4 separate regions of the Homo sapiens genome follow, and all the other regions are linked to region 4. Evidence: promoter capture Hi-C in 16 types of primary human blood cells and fetal thymus (Javierre and others, 2016). All regions are on one chromosome and are shown on one strand. Each heading gives the region's core, a stretch centred on a gene start or on the middle of the fragment in contact. The rest is flanking DNA. Distances are from core to core; before and after follow the strand shown. Region 1 has its middle 8.0 kb from the start of PYCARD-AS1. Region 2 overlaps KRABD5 (KRAB domain containing 5). Region 3 overlaps KRABD5 (KRAB domain containing 5). Region 4 holds the start of TGFB1I1 (transforming growth factor beta 1 induced transcript 1).

Region 1 (3,953 bases), core at 1,095-3,594, 280 kb after region 4:
CTGGCACAACCCACTTGACAATACTTTCTCAGCTTGTATATGCCAGCGCCACTGAAGATTGTATTTGCATAAGAAGGTGAACACAATTGTAGAAATATTCTTCTAAGTCAAATTATTTCAAAATAGCCAGGTGCAGTAGCACACCTGTAGTCCCAGTCATTCAGGAGCCCGAGGCGGAAGGATCGCTGGGGCCCACTGAGACCAGCCTGGCCAACATGGAGAAACCCCATCTCTACTAAAAATACAAGAGTTAGCTGGGCATGGTGGTGCACACCTGTAATCCCAGCTACCTGGGAGGCTAAGGCAGGAGAATCACTTGAATCTGGAAGGCAGAGGTTGCAGTGAGCCAAGATCCTACCACTGCACTCCAGCCTGGGTGGCAGGGCAAGACTCTGTCTCCAAAAAAGAAAAAAGAAATCTGTACGTCAGAGATGTCTGCACTCCCACCCAATGCAGCGTTATTCACACTAGCCAAGATATGCAAGCAACCCAAGTGCCCAATTAACGGATGGATTTTTAAATGTGGTATGTAGACACAACAGAATGCTATTCAGCTTTTTAAAAGGAAACCGTTATTTGTAACATGGGTGAATCGATAAATCTAGAAGACATTATGCTAAAATAAGCCACAGAAAGACTGCATGAACTTATACACGGAATCTAGAAAGTCAAACTCGGAAACTGAAAGTAGAATGGGGGTTACCAGAGGCTTGGAGGTATGGGTAAGCAGGGAGACAAAGGGTACAACACTTCAGATGCAAGAAATGAGTTCTGGTAAGCCACTGCACAGCATGGTGACTACAGTTCATAAAAACGTGAGACACAGTGGCATGCATCCATAGTCCCAGCTGAGAGGCTAAGGGCAAGAAGATCACTTAAGCCCAGGAGTTCAAGTCCAGCCTGAGCAACATAGGGAGACCCGTTTCAACCCATTTACGCCTAGTGCTCCATTACAGGTGTGACCCACCACACTCGGCCAGAACACACTATTCTTACTGAATGACTGAAGTCAATCATTTTTTGTTTTTATTTTTGGTCTGATTATTCACAAAACATTTGCAACCTCCAGCATAAAAGGGCTGAAATAACATAAATTTCAAAATTTTCTAAGAGTGGCTTTGTATGTTCTCATTCATGCTAATGATATGAAGTGATGGATATATTAGCCTGATTTGATTCCACAATGTGTACATGTACAGAAATAGGACATTGTACCCCATAAATATATACAAGTTAATTAAAAATAAAATTTTCATAGCCGGACACAGTATCTCACACCTTAATCCCAGCACTCTGGGAGGCCAAAGTGGGACAATCACTTGAGCCCAGAGCAGTTTTGAGACCAGACCAGCCTGAGCAACATGGCAAGACCCCATCTCCACAAAAAATACAAAAAAAAATTAGCCAGTCATGGTGGCAGGTGCCTGTAGTCCCGTCCCAGCTACTCCAGAGGCTGAGGTGGGCAGATAGCTTGCGGGTGGGAGGCAGAGGTTGCAGTTGGTCGAGATCACACCACTGCAATCCAGCCTGGGTGAGAGTGAGACCGTCTCAAAAAAAAAAAAAAAATTTAAAAAGGATGAGACTGGAAGGAAGACATGCCTAAAGGTAGATCAGTGAGTCAAGTCTCACATGGGCTGGACCCTAGACCTTAATTCCTGGTCAATCTACCCACCACTGACATAACTGCAGCCCTACATCCAAGTACTGAAACCCAGGAAGGCCCGGCACAAGATGGGGAAAAAAGCTGAAAGGGCTAACTGAAGGCTACATCAAGGAAGGGACAAACAGACCTACAGCACAGCTCTCCCCACCCTCCTCACTTCCTACTTAGCCTGTCCCAATTCCAACTCACAAAAATGGGACACCTAATGCTTCAAGACAGATTTCAATCATTCAGTAAGAATAGAGTATTCTGGCCAAACGCAGTGGGTCACACCTGTGATCCCAGCACTTTGGGAGGCTGAGGCAGGCAGGTCACTTGAGGCCAGTTCAAGACCAGCCTGGGCAACCCAGTGAAACCCTGTTTCTTAAAAAAAAAAAAGTAATTAAAAAAAAAATTACCCAGGTGTGGTAGCGAGGAAGCACCTGTAGTCCCAGCTACTTGGGAGGCTGAGGTGGGAGGTTGGCTTGAGAGGCACCAATGTTCTCTCTGCTGCTAGGTGTCTCTATCCATTCTCCTGGAAGATCCCCCCAAACTGGACCTACCCACTAAACAGTCACCTGGGACCCTATTTCCTTTTAAGGTCAAGGCCAATCACATATGCCATTTGAAGGACACAGGAACTTGACACTAATGGTCCCAGTAATCATATCTTACAAGGAGCTTCGACCTCCTCCACTCCTAACAGGAGGGCATCAGGGGACCACAACCAAAGCAAGATTAGAATCCTGCTAGGCAAAGCACCAACAGTGAACTACTCAAATATCGTATCAGGCCATTTCAACTAAACATTTAACAAAGAAACCAGCAGTGGCAGGGACGGAGAGAACTGCCACATCCTCTACATGTACTAAGTCAAAGCAATGCCTGGGAAGGCCCACTTGACGATCCTTTGTTTTTAATACGCCAGACCACTCTCCGCCTACTGTTGCTTAGAGAGCACCCCAATGCTGGCAGGGGAAGTAAACCTGCTATTCCTCTTAAAAGTCATGGTTTATTGGGAGGCTGAGGTGTGCACATCACCTGAGGTCGGGAGTTCGAGACCAGCCTGACCAACATGGAGAAACCCCGTCTCTACTAAAAATACAAATAAATTAGCTGGGCATGGTGGCGCATGCCTGTAATCCCAGCTATCGCTTGAACCCAGGAGGCGGCAGTTGCGGTAAGCCGAAAAACGTGCCATTGCACTCCAGCCTGGGCAACAAGAGCAAAACTCCATCTCAAAAAATAAAGTCATAGTTTCTGTGCCTCAAATCACCCAAGATTCAAGGATGCAGCAACTCTTCAGTAGAGAACATACTTGTGGAACACTTGAAAATTTGAGAGGATGGCCAGATGCAGCGGCTCATGCCTGTAATTCCAGCACTTTGGGAGGCCAAGGCAGGTGGATCACCTGAGGTCAGGAGTTAAGAGACCAGCCTGGCCAACACAGTGAAACCACACCTCCACTAAAAATGCAAAAACTAGGTGGGCATGGTGGCCCACGCCTGTAGTCTCAGCTACTCAGAAGCTGGGATTCTCCTGAGGCAGGAGAATCGCTTAAACTCAGGAGGCAGAGGCTACAGTGAGCCGAGATCACGCCACTGCACTCCAGCCTGGATGACAGAGCAAGACTCTGTCTCTAAAAATAAAAAATAAAAATTTGAGAGGAAAGCACTTCCCAATTAGGGGTCCCCAGCACATTTGTAAGCTATGCTTGTGATGGCAGCTGTCTTACAAACCAAGTTCGAAAACCCTGTAAATAAAACCTTTCTGCTCTTGGGTTAATGTTACGCTCTGTGTAACTAAAATAAAAAGCATGCTAAATAACTGGTTGGCAGGTACGTGCAAGTTTACAACCACATGGTAAGAGGCTGAGGAGCACTGCTCTAAGGTTTTAACTCATTGGCTGCAACCCCTTCCCCCTCTTATCACTTATCATTCCCTTAGGAGGGCCTTCCACCCTCCAATCAAAAAGGGATCAAGCCTAAAATCTCATAATGTCAATGACCTCAAGCCCTCTGAGTACAGGCAGGATGTGAAAGTAACCCAGCCAGACCAGTCTCCTTATAGCAGGTATCTACCCAAGCGCTGTTCACCAGGGCAGCTAGGAAGGGAGTCACTCACCTCCTAGATCCTGACTCCACTCCACAAACTCCTGCAGCACTCAGTTACTCTCCTTCCTGTGAAAGACCCAGAGTGGCTAAGCGCTCTCCACCATGGTCAAATCTGAATACTGCCCCATTTAAATGTAGTTTGTTTGAGCCTCACCATTAAAAGGGCCAAAAGATCAAAGAGTTCTTAAAAAGGGATA
Region 2 (3,919 bases), core at 1,269-3,768, 280 kb before region 4:
CCGGTATGAATTCTTTGATGTTGAGTAAGGCGTGAACTACAATTAAAGGCTTTGCCACATTCTTTGCATTTATAGGGTTTTTCTCCAGTATGAATTCTCTGGTGGACAATAAGACTTGAGGAACGAGAAAAAGATTTGCTACATGATTTACATTTGTAAAGTTTTTCTCCGGTATGAATTCTCTGATGTTTAGTTAGGTACGACCTACAGTTAAAGGCTTTGCTGCATTCCTTACATTTATAGGGTTTCTCTCCAGTATGAATTCTCTCATGCTGAGTAAGGGCTGAAGACACTTTAAATGATTTACCACATTCTTTACATTTGTAAGGTTTCTCTCCAGTATGAATTCTCTGATGCACAAGAAGATTTGAAGAATGAGTAAAACATTTGCTACACGCTTTACATTTGTAAAGTTTTTCTCCAGTGTGAATTCTCTGATGTCTAGTAAAATATGAACTAGAATTGAAGGCTTTGCCACATTCTTTACATTTGTATGGTTTCTCTCCAGTATGAATTATTTGATGTTGAGTAAGGTGTGAACGATGGTTAAAGGCTTTGTCACATTCTTTACATTTGTAAGGTTTCTCTTCATTATGGATTATCTTATGTTTTCTTAGACTTGACAATTTACTAAGGATTTTCTCACCATTATTACATCTGTGTGACTTTTCTCCAATATGGATTCTCTGAGGCTGAGTATGTTTTGATGACTGGATAAAAGTTTCTATACACTTATTACATTTGGCAGACTTCTCTTGAATAAAGATACTCTGATGGACATGGTTGGTGCATTCATGAAAGGCTTTCTCACATTTTTTACGTTTGCAATGGTTATGTAGAAAATGAGTTTTCTGATGTCTTCTGGGGCTTATGCCTTGGCTTAATGTTGTATCAGATTTATTGTACTGATTTTTCTCTGCAACACAAATATACTGGTAATTATTTAGGGTATAGTCCTGCCTAAAGGCTGTCAAAGTTTTATTATGTGTGTGATATTTTCCCAAATTATCTATTCCTTGACATTGATTAAGCAATGATGAATGAATGAAGACCTTTCTATATTGATCACAGGCAGAACGAGGTGTTATTTGTTGGTGAAACAAACTTTTAACAAAGATCCATCAAATTGATCATATTTAGAAATCACCTCCTCGTTTTTAAATCTCTCCTTTTCAGAAATATTTGACTGAACATTTACTCCAGTTCTATATTTTAATTGGTTTAAATGATTATTTGAAACATGGACTAAGTCACTATTCGGATTATCCAAATTTCCTTTAAAAGAAAAGGTAAGTTTCAAAAATTGATGTTGACACTTACTTACAGAAACACATGGTTTAGAAAAAGCAACTGACATAAATTGAGTTTTTTCATGTTTTTGACCTCCTGTAACAGTGAGGTTTTTGTTATAGGTAGTTGTCTTACATTTTGTATGTCCATCATAATATCCATTGTGACCTTCACACTTACCCTCACTTTCCCACTCTTTCCTTAAGTTTAAATTCTGAGGGCCACAGCTCCCATATCCATCCAATATCACTTTTTGGAATGATGCTTCTATAAGCTTCTTTCTTAAGAGGCCTTGAGTATCATGAGAAAAGATATCTGAAAGATACCAAAAGTTTTCAAAATTCCAATTACTAAATTCAGGTGAAAATACTTTATAAATCTAATACACAAATTATATCACGTTGAGAACACCATGATAGTTGAATCAAAAACTTGAGGCCCCTTTGTTTTCTCAATTGATATATGAACTTAAATGTAATAGGGTGACTAAAGCCAGGTGAGTTTGCAGCACCTAGGTGAACACAAAGCCAAGAATGGTCACATATAGAAGGAAGAAAGTTTGTTGTATTTGTGCACCACAGCACAGTGCAGTTACACAAAAATTTTTCGCATTCTGTTTCGCTCTCAGGAAAGAAAAATAAAAGGAGCAAAACATATGTCCAAAGTTCTGGGTTATTCTGGGGCTATCTAAAGACTGGCCATTGCTTCCTTTAATATGTGGTGCTGAAGAAAATGGTGATATAGTTGAAATGATATGTCGGGTCAACTGAGAACAAACATGAATGCTTGTTACAAGAACAGAGAGACAGTAGTGCCTATGACACTCAACAAAGGGGGAGATTAAAGGCTCCTAAGAGAAAAAGAAAAAAGCAAACCTTTTTAATAGGAAAATACACACAGTAGTCCAGAGAAGAAACATCCTGACAACAGTATGAAGAATCTCCCAGAATGACTAGAGTACCTGATGGGTATCAGTTTTCACATGTACAAATTCATTCCATAATAGATGGAATAGGTAGCTGTCTCTTACTTGATCAAAATATCAACAAAATCACAAGACATCAAAGTAACCAAAACACATGGCTCAATAAAGGGACCAAAATGAAAGTGAATCTAAAGAAGCAGAAATCTATTAACTAACATATTAATATCCAAGTGAAGCTAGAGAAGTAGAAATCTATTAACTAATTTTAAAATAATTTAAAATATCTATCTTTGTCTTATAGACAAGGTCTTGCACTGTCACCAGGCCAGAGTACAATCATAGCTCACTGGAACCTCGAATTCCTGGCCTAAAGCAGTCACCCTACCTCACTTCCCCAAGTGGCTATGACTACAAAAACACACCATCACATCTGAATAATTTTTTAAGTTCTTTGTACAACCAGGGTCTTGCTAGGTCATTTAGGCTGGTCAAAAATTCCTGGCCTCAAGGAATACTATAGCCTCAGATTCTCAAAGTGCTGGGATGAAACCAGCAACTGAACCTGGCATTTTGTGACTTCTTTAAGAAATGAGAATATTAACCCAACAACCATACAAAAGCACAAGGATGTATTCCATAATGATAAAGGGTTCAATTCAACAAGAATACCTACACATGCTAAACACCTATGCACCAAACTTCGGAGCACCGAGATTCATAAAACAAGTGCTTCTAGTCCTGAGAAAAGAATTAGTCACATAATAACAGTGAGGTATTTCAACATCCCATGGACATCATTAGATCCCTGAGGCAGAAAATTCACAAAGAAATTTTAGACATCAATTCCACATAACCTAATAGGCATCTACAGAATAGACCAACTGGACCTAATAGACATCTACAGAATATTCCACCCATCAACCACAGAACACATACATCCTTCATATGCACACAGGACATACTTGAAGATTGACCCTATACACTCAGCCAGAAAGCAAGTCTCAATAAATTAAAAAGAAAAAAATCATACCAGTCATACTTTTGGACTAAAATAGAATAAAAACAGAAAACAATACCAAGAAGATCTCTCAAAACCACAGAAATGCATAGAAATTAAACAACTGGCTCCTCAACAACTTTTGAGTAAACAATGATATCAAGGCAGAAATTTAAAAGTTCTTTGAAATAAGTGAAAACAGAGAAAACACATACCAAAATCTTTGGGACACAGCTAAAGCCACATTAAAAGAAGCTTATAACACGAAATGCCTATTTCAAGAAGTCAGATCTCAAATTAATGATATAACATCACTTGTAAAGAAACTAGAAAAAGAAAAATAAGCTGAGCACAAATGTAGAAGAATAGAAATAACTAAAATCAGATAACTGAATTAATTGAGACCCCAAATTCCATACAAAGCATCAGCAAAACCAAAAGTTGGTTCTTTGAAAGGGTAAACGAGATTGATAGACCACTAGCTAGGTTAACAAAGAAAAACAGAAGATCCAGATAAGCACAATCAGAAACAACAAAGGGGACATTGCAATCGATCCCACAGGTATACAAAAGATTCTCAGAGACTTCTATGCACATAAATTAGAACATCTAGAGGAAATGGATAAATTCCTAGAAACACAAAATTTCCAAAGATTGAATAGGGAAGAAACTGAAACCCTGAACAAACCAGTATCAAGTTCTGATAC
Region 3 (3,894 bases), core at 1,088-3,587, 260 kb before region 4:
AATATGAAAGCATGAAGGAAGCATATAGCCTGTATAGTATATCATAAAGTGAACAAATATACATATTTTAGGATTTTCAGAAGAAGAAAGAAAGAAGAAAAAAGATTAAAGATATAATGTCTTAAAACTCCCCAAATCTGGAAAAGGATATGAACAAGAAGTTTCATAAAGCTCAAAATACCCATGGCAAGAAGAACCTAATGAAGATTCCCCTGGGGCATATCATAATTAAACTGTCAAAATTCAAAGACAAAGCAAGAATCATGAAAGCAGCATGAAATAAGAGATTCTTCACATACAAGGGAAACTTTATAATGTTATCAGTAGATTTTTTAGCAGAAACCTTACAGGCCAAATGGGAGTGATACCATATATTAAAAGTGCTGAAAGAAGGAAAATTAAACAAACAAACAAACAAAAAAGACAACTAAGTAGGCTATACACAACAAAGCATCTTTTAGAAATAAAAGAGAGATGAAGACATTTCAAGACCCCCCCACCAAAAAAAAAATTAAAGGAATTCATCACCACTAGACCTGTCTAGAAATGCTAAACGACTAAAGGGAATTACTCAAGTTGAAGTGATGAAATGCTAACTAAATATGAAAACATTAAAACTACAAACATCACTGGAAATGGTAAATAGTGAAATTCAGAATACTCGAATATTGTAATGGTGGTACATAAGTCACTTTTAATTCTAGTATAAGAACTATAAAACAAAACTATTTTTTAAAAGTATAGCTATGATAATTTGTTAATGAATACAAAATATAAAAAGTTTTAAAATGTGACATATATAGTATAAAATGTGTGAAGGGGAGGAAAAGCATAGAGTTTTTCTATGCATAAAAGTTGGATAATTATCATCTTAAACTAGGCTGTTATATGATGTTTTATGTAAGTCTTATAACCACTAGAGAAAAAAAAACTGTAGTAGATACAAGAAAAAAAGAAAGTAATCAAAGTATATAAAAACAACAAAAACAAGACAAAAAATTAACATGACCAAAGCATAAGAGGAAAAAAGAAACAAAGTATAAAATAGAAAACAAACTTATAATAGTTACCTATCAATAATTACATATAAAGAGATTAAATTATCCAATAAACAGACATTGATAAAGACTGAATGTCACTTCCAAAATTTAGGTTAAAATTTAATAGCCACTGTGATAGAATTAAGAAGTGGGACTTTTAAGAAGTGATTAGGCCATGAGAGCTCTGCCTGCATGAATGTATTAATGTCCTTATCACAGCAGTGGGTTAATTATCACAAGTGTGCGTTTGTTATAAAAGGGAGCTCTCTCCCCCTCGTGCCTTTGGCCATGTTATTATGCAGCAAAAAGGTCTTCACCAGATGCCAGTGTCATGCTCTCTGCCTTCCCTGCCTCCAGAATCACAGGCTAAATTAATTTGTATTCCTTATAAATCACCCATTTCATTATAAAATACCCTGTGAATATTCTGATATAGCAGCACAAAATGGATTTAAAACAGACAGTGGCTGAATGAATTTTTAAAAATCCAGTGACAGGTTGCTTACAAGAGACTCACTTTTGATTTAAGGACAAACATAAGCTAACAGTGAAAGAACTGGAAAGGATATTCCATACAAATGATAAACAAAAGAGTGCAGGCAGGGGTAGCTATACTTACATTAGACAAAACAGGCTGTCTGACAAAATCTGTCACAAGAGACAAAGGAGTTAACTATATAATAATAGAGAGGTTAATTTGTCTAGAGGATAGAGCAATTAAATAGATATATGCACCCAACACTGGAATACTTAAATATATAAAGCATACATTAACAGAACTGGAAGGAGAAATATACAGAAATACAACAAAAGAGAACATTAGTACCCTACTTAAAATGGATAGATCATTCAGGCACAAAATTAAGAAAGCAGTGCACTACTATAACACTATAGACTAAATGTACATATAACATCCCATCCAACAATATGAGAATACAGTCTTCTAAGAATACATGAAATATTCTCCAGGACAGATCACATGTTAAACCAAAAGTAAAAAGCAGTAAGTCTTTTCAAATGTATAAAGATTAAAATTATATCAAGTTTTTTTTTCTGATTGCACTGATATAAAACTGAAAATCAATAGCAGAAAGAAAACTGGAAATTCACAAATACGTAAATATTAAACAACACACTCCTGAAAAATCAATAGGATGAAGAAGAAATCAAAAGAAAAATCTAAACATATCCTGAGACAAATGAAATTGGAAACACAAGAAACCAAAACTTCTGTGATGCAACCAAAACAGTTCTAGTACAGAAGTTTATAATAATAAAGTTCTACATTAAGAAAAAAAAAGATGTTGAATAAGCAATCTAACTCAATTCCTCAAGAAACTTGAACATGAACAAAATAATCCCAATGTTAGCATAATTATGAAAATAGTAAGAATTAGAACAAAAAGAGACTAAATAAAGACTAGAAAGGCAATAGAAAAGATCAAAGAAACTGAATTGAGTTTTTCAAAGAAAACAAAATTGAGAAACTTTTGGCCAGATTAAGCAAAGGATCAAAAAGAGAGAGGACTCAAAAAATTATAAGTGGGCTGGGTGCACTTCCTCATGCTTGTAATCCCAGTGCTTTTGGAGGCCATGGCAGGTAAATCACTTGAGCCCAGGATTTGGAGACCAGCCTGGGCAACATAATGAAACCCTTCTCTCTAAAAAATACAAAAATTAGCTGAGCATGGTGGTACACCCCTGTAGTCCCAGCTACTTGGGAGATGGGAGAATAACATGAGCCTGGGAGGTTGAGGCTGCAGTGAGTTATGATCATGCCACTGCACTTTGGTTTGGACATCAGAGTGAGACCCTGTCTCAAATAAATAAATAAATAAATACATAAAAGAAAGAAGGATGAGTCATTACAACTGACAACACACAAAGAATAATAAGAGACTACTATGAACAATTATATGACAACAAATTGGATAACTTAGAAGAAACAGATTCTTAGAAATGAATGACTCACCAAGATTAAATCACAAAGAAACAGAAACACTGAACAGACCAATAATAAGAAAGGAGATTGAAGCAGTTATAAAAAAATCCAATGAGAAAAAGCCCATGACCAAATGAATTCATGGGTGAATTGTATCACACATTTAAAGATGAATTAATGTCCATCCTTCTCAAATTCTTCCAAAAAATTGAAGGGAAAAAACACTGCCCCTTAGTTTGCATGTAATGAAAAGTGGGTATATAAGTACATGACTGCAGAACTGCTCCTCTCAGCACACTGCCTACAGGGTAGCCTCGCTCCACAGGAGCAGTCATAGAGCTGCAACACTGCCAGCTCAATAAAGCTGTTTTCTTCTACCACTATCTTGCACTTGAATTCTTCCTGAGTGAAGCCGTGAACCTTCCCAGGATAAGCCCCAATCTGGGGGCTCACCTGCCCTGCAACAAGAGCAATTAGGTAAAAAAAAGAAATAAAAGGCACTCATATCAGCAACGAAGAATTGTAATTTTCTCTGCTTGCAGATTAGGTGATTTTATATACAGAAAACCCTAAAGAGTATACAAAAAGAGTTAGAGCTAATACTCATTCAGTAAAGCTGAGGTCACAAAATTACCATACAAAAATTAGTTGCATTTCTATATACTAACAATTAATGATCTGAGAAAAAAAGTTAAGCAAACAATCCAATTTATAATAGCATCAAAAGTATAAAATTCTTATGATTCCATTTAACAAAGGAGGTGAAAGATCTGCTCAGTAAAATCTGTAAGACAGTGATGAATACAATTGAAAAAGACACAAATAAATGGAAAGATATCCCTTGTTCATGGACTGGAAAAATTAATACTGATAAAATGTCCACACTACACAAAGTGATCTACAGATACAGTG
Region 4 (3,585 bases), core at 25-2,524:
ATCAGGGAGAGAGACAAGGGTCACGGTTAGATCAGAAGATAAGGTTCCCAGTGGGCAGTACTGGAGAAGGACAGAAGCCAGTATTAAGAGAAGAGGTCACAGGGCCAGAGCCAGGCAGAGCACTGCTCGAAGGGTAGCAAGGAATATTTATGACCAGAATATCCCAGTTGCTCACGCTTGGAGCCAAGCACAAACCCAGCCTCCTGATTATTTTATTCTCCCCATCTTCTCTGATGCAGTCAAAATGGGCTCTTCACCCAAGCCAAATTTGGCTCCCCTCCAAATTGCTCCATTGGCCCAGTGCCTGGCCCTCAGCTTTCTGATTGGACGCTCTCTCTTCCATGCTGGTTAACTCCTCCCTCTACCTACACAGGCCCCGCCCAGCCTGGCCACTCCCAGGCCCCTGAGTCCCGCCCTGGGCTCCTCACTGGCGCTTCGCTGGGACCTGCCTTCTGATTGGCTGTTTATCTGCGGTACAGCGTCAGTTACCCCTACCGAGCAGCGCCCTCTACCGCCAGGGGCCGGAAGCCCCTCTCTCCCGTGGAGCGCACAGCCTTCCAGCCCCAGGCTTCGCAGGGAGGACGAGATACCTGGGTCCCCCTTCCGGACAAGACACCTCTCTCCATCCCTGCATCCCCAGATCCGGGTCTTTTGAGCCCTTTCACTTCCAGAACCCAGAAGTCCTGCCCTCAGTCTTCGTCTCTGAGCACCCGCGTGAAACCCTGAAGCCTTCGCGGGCGCCTAGGCACTCCTGAGTTACTATTCTCTTCCTTGCCTCAAGGACCTGACCCTCACTGTGCTCAGGAGCCCTTAACTCCTCCTCTCCCAAAACTCTGGTGCAGGCAGGCCCGCTTTTTTTCTCCAAAACTTGATGCCAGACTTTCCCGTGCCCTCTACTTTCCCGGTCCCCGGGCCGAGGCCCCTTTAACCCCTCCCTCCCCAGAGCCCCGCGCCCGGGCGCCCGCGGGCGCCGCACCTCCCGTTCCATCTGCCGCAGCCTGGGATGGAGGAGCACAGCGAGGGAAGAAGGGAGGGAGCGGCCGGCCCAGGAAAGGCAGGAAGGGAGAGGCAGGAAGGGGGACGTGGAGTTGGAAAGGAGGCGCGGGCAGAGGCGAAAAGCAGAAGTAAGAAGACAGGGATGGGGAGATGCGGGAGAGCGACGGCGGGGAGGCAGCTCTGGGCAGCGGTGAGGGGCCACGGACCCGGGGATCCGGCCCCACTCACCCAGGTCCTCCATGGCGGGGCGCGGGCCGGTGGCGCGGGGCGAACAGGGCGGGGGCCGTGTCCGGTGGGGGCGGGGGGCGGGGGACGTCCGGGAGCTGGAAGCCCGGCCGTGACCATGTAAGGAAGCCGGGACCCGCTGAGATGGGGATGGGGGGGCGATGAACGGGGGAACCCGAGGTGGGGGCGTGGAAAGGAGGGAGCGCCCCGGCCCACCCGAGCCCAGCCCGCCGGCCTGCCGCGGAGGCGGCCACACCCCAGCCTTGGCCTCAGCTGCAGGGAGCCCCAGGAGGCCAGAGCCAGAGAGAAGTGGCTTCTCCAGACCAAGCCCCAGAGCCGCTCCCTAGGGAGACTTACAGACACGGACTGAGGCCCCCAAACAGACACCGCTCAAAGCTAGCGCCTGAGTCCTAGACAAGAGCCTCCCTCCCACCCATGCCATTCCTGGGAGACTTGTCCCAGACGGAATTTTTGGATTGGTAGCAGGAGTGATATTCTAAGGCTCAATTAGACCTCAGGTTCGGAGACCCTCCCATCGGAGACCCTGACAGATAAATAGAGGCCCCAAGAGGCATACATACCAGACACAAAGAAATCTGAGGGACGGGGACAGACACAGTGAACCCACCCACAGACTCTACACTAGGACCTTCCCTCCAAGACTTGGTCATGGACACACGTAAACTCGAACCCGGGCGCAAGCCCCTTGCAAATTCGGGGAAAACACTCCCAGGCAACCAACCCCCAGCCAGCCTGCAAGACAAAGCCCTTCCTCAGCACTGAGGTGGCCCAGGCCTGCTCTGAAACAGCCCTTTCCCAAGTTACTGATGAACTCAGAGCAGAAAGCAAGACACAGTCTCCAGCCACAAAGTGGCAAGGCCTTCCCTGGACTGAGACCCTGAGAAACGAGGTGGAAACGAGAGGCCATAGAGGTAGTTATGGACAGACAACTGTGCTGCAGCCACTCTTCTGGACAGATCTGAGCACTGGAATGTGAGTATCAACCCAGCAGCAAATCGGAACAACCTGGGGAGCTTTTTAAAAATGCGAGACAGGCATGGTGGCTCACACCTATAATCCTAGCACTTTGGGAGGTCAAGGCGGGCAGGTCACTTGAGGTCAGGAGTTCGAGACCAGCCTGGCCAACATGACAAAACCCCATCTCTACTAAAAACACAAAATTAGCTGTGCGTGGTGGTGGGAGCCTGTAATTCCAGCTACTTGGGAGGCTGAGACAGGAGAATTGCTTGAAACCTGGAGGCAGAGGCTGCAGTGAGCTGAGATTGTGCCACTGAACTCCTGAGCAACAGAGGAGACCCTGTGTCAAGAATAAAAAAGAAAAAGAAGAAAAAATGGGCAAACGACCTGAATAGACAGTTCAAAGAAGTTATATAAATAGCCAATGATTACATGAAAAGATCCTCAACATCATTAGTCCCCAGAGAAATGCAAATCAAAACTACAATGAGATGCCACATCATACCTATTAGGATGGCAATAACAAAAAAGACAGGTAATTAGGCAAGGAGCAGTGGCTCACACCTGTAATCCTAACACTTTGGAAGGCCGAGGTGGGTGGATCCCCTGAGGTCAGGAGTTCGAGACCAGCCTGGCTAACATGGTGAAAACAGTCTCTACTAAAAACACACAAAAAAATTAGCCAGACATGGTGGTGGGCACCTGTAGTCCCAGCTACTTGGGAGGCTGAGGCGGAAGAATCCCTTGAACCTGGCAGGTGGAGGCTGCAGTGAGCTGAGATCGTGCCACTGCACTCCAGCCTGAGCAACAGAGCGAGACTCCATCTCAAATAATAATGATAATATTTTAAAGGCCAGGCTCAGTGGTTCACGCCTGTAATCCCAACACTCTGGGAGGCCGAGGCGGGCGGATCACCTGAGGTCTGGAGTTGGAGACCAGCCTGGTTAACTTGGCAAAACCCCGTCTCTACTAAAAATACAAAAATTAGCTGGGTGTGGTGGCAGGCACCTGTAATCCCAGCTACTCGGGAGGCTGAGGCAGGAGAATCACTTGAACTCGGGAGGCAGAGGTTGCAGTGAGCAGAGATTGTGCCACTGCACTCCAGCCTGGTGACAGAGTGAGATTCCGACTCAAAAAAAAAAAAAAAAAAAGCTGAAAAGAAAGAGGTAATTAGCAAGTTTTTGTGAGGATATGGAGAGATTGGAACCCTCACACATGGCTGGTTGGAATGTAAAATCGTTCACTAACTTTGGAAAATGGTCTGGCAGTTCCTCACATGTTTAAACATAGAGTTATATGATCCAGCAATTTCCCTTCTAGATATGTAACCAAGAGAAATAAAAGCATATTCCACAAAAAAACTTGTACATGAGTATTCATAGCAGC

What was found. Contacts are between HindIII fragments. The CHiCAGO score rates a contact against its expected background, and 5 or more counts as called.
Region 1: a fragment that was not itself captured here is called in contact with the fragment with the promoter of TGFB1I1 in region 4 in 4 of 17 cell types (naive CD8 T cells, naive CD4 T cells, endothelial precursors and 1 more); the score reaches 7.0 in naive CD8 T cells.
Region 2: a fragment that was not itself captured here is called in contact with the fragment with the promoter of TGFB1I1 in region 4 in 1 of 17 cell types (naive CD8 T cells); the score reaches 5.6 in naive CD8 T cells.
Region 3: a contact is called between a fragment that was not itself captured here and the fragment with the promoter of TGFB1I1 in region 4, in 3 of 17 cell types (activated CD4 T cells, total CD8 T cells and erythroblasts). The highest score is 8.2, in activated CD4 T cells.

Annotation. Positions count from the first base shown.
Region 1 is chr16:31,191,908-31,195,860 of GRCh38, reverse strand. It overlaps a transcript of FUS not described here. Among named protein-coding and RNA genes, the nearest start is that of PYCARD-AS1, 8.0 kb to the left of the region's middle. The HindIII fragment of the contact is 5,764 bases long and covers 1-3,953 here.
Region 2 is chr16:31,751,452-31,755,370 of GRCh38, reverse strand. KRABD5 (KRAB domain containing 5) reads right to left here. Exons shown (of 5, transcript NM_001130913.2): 4 at 1,471-1,605. Among named protein-coding and RNA genes, the nearest start is that of KRABD5, 40 kb to the right of the region's middle. The HindIII fragment of the contact is 1,903 bases long and covers 1,567-3,469 here.
Region 3 is chr16:31,726,846-31,730,739 of GRCh38, reverse strand. All of the region lies in intron 3 of KRABD5 (KRAB domain containing 5), which reads right to left. Among named protein-coding and RNA genes, the nearest start is that of KRABD5, 16 kb to the right of the region's middle. The HindIII fragment of the contact is 8,496 bases long and covers 1-3,894 here.
Region 4 is chr16:31,469,841-31,473,425 of GRCh38, reverse strand. TGFB1I1 (transforming growth factor beta 1 induced transcript 1) reads right to left here and starts at 1,274. Exons shown (of 11, transcript NM_001042454.3): 1 at 1,225-1,274. The coding sequence starts at 1,237. RefSeq lists an enhancer at 395-935. The HindIII fragment of the contact is 20,246 bases long and covers 1-3,585 here.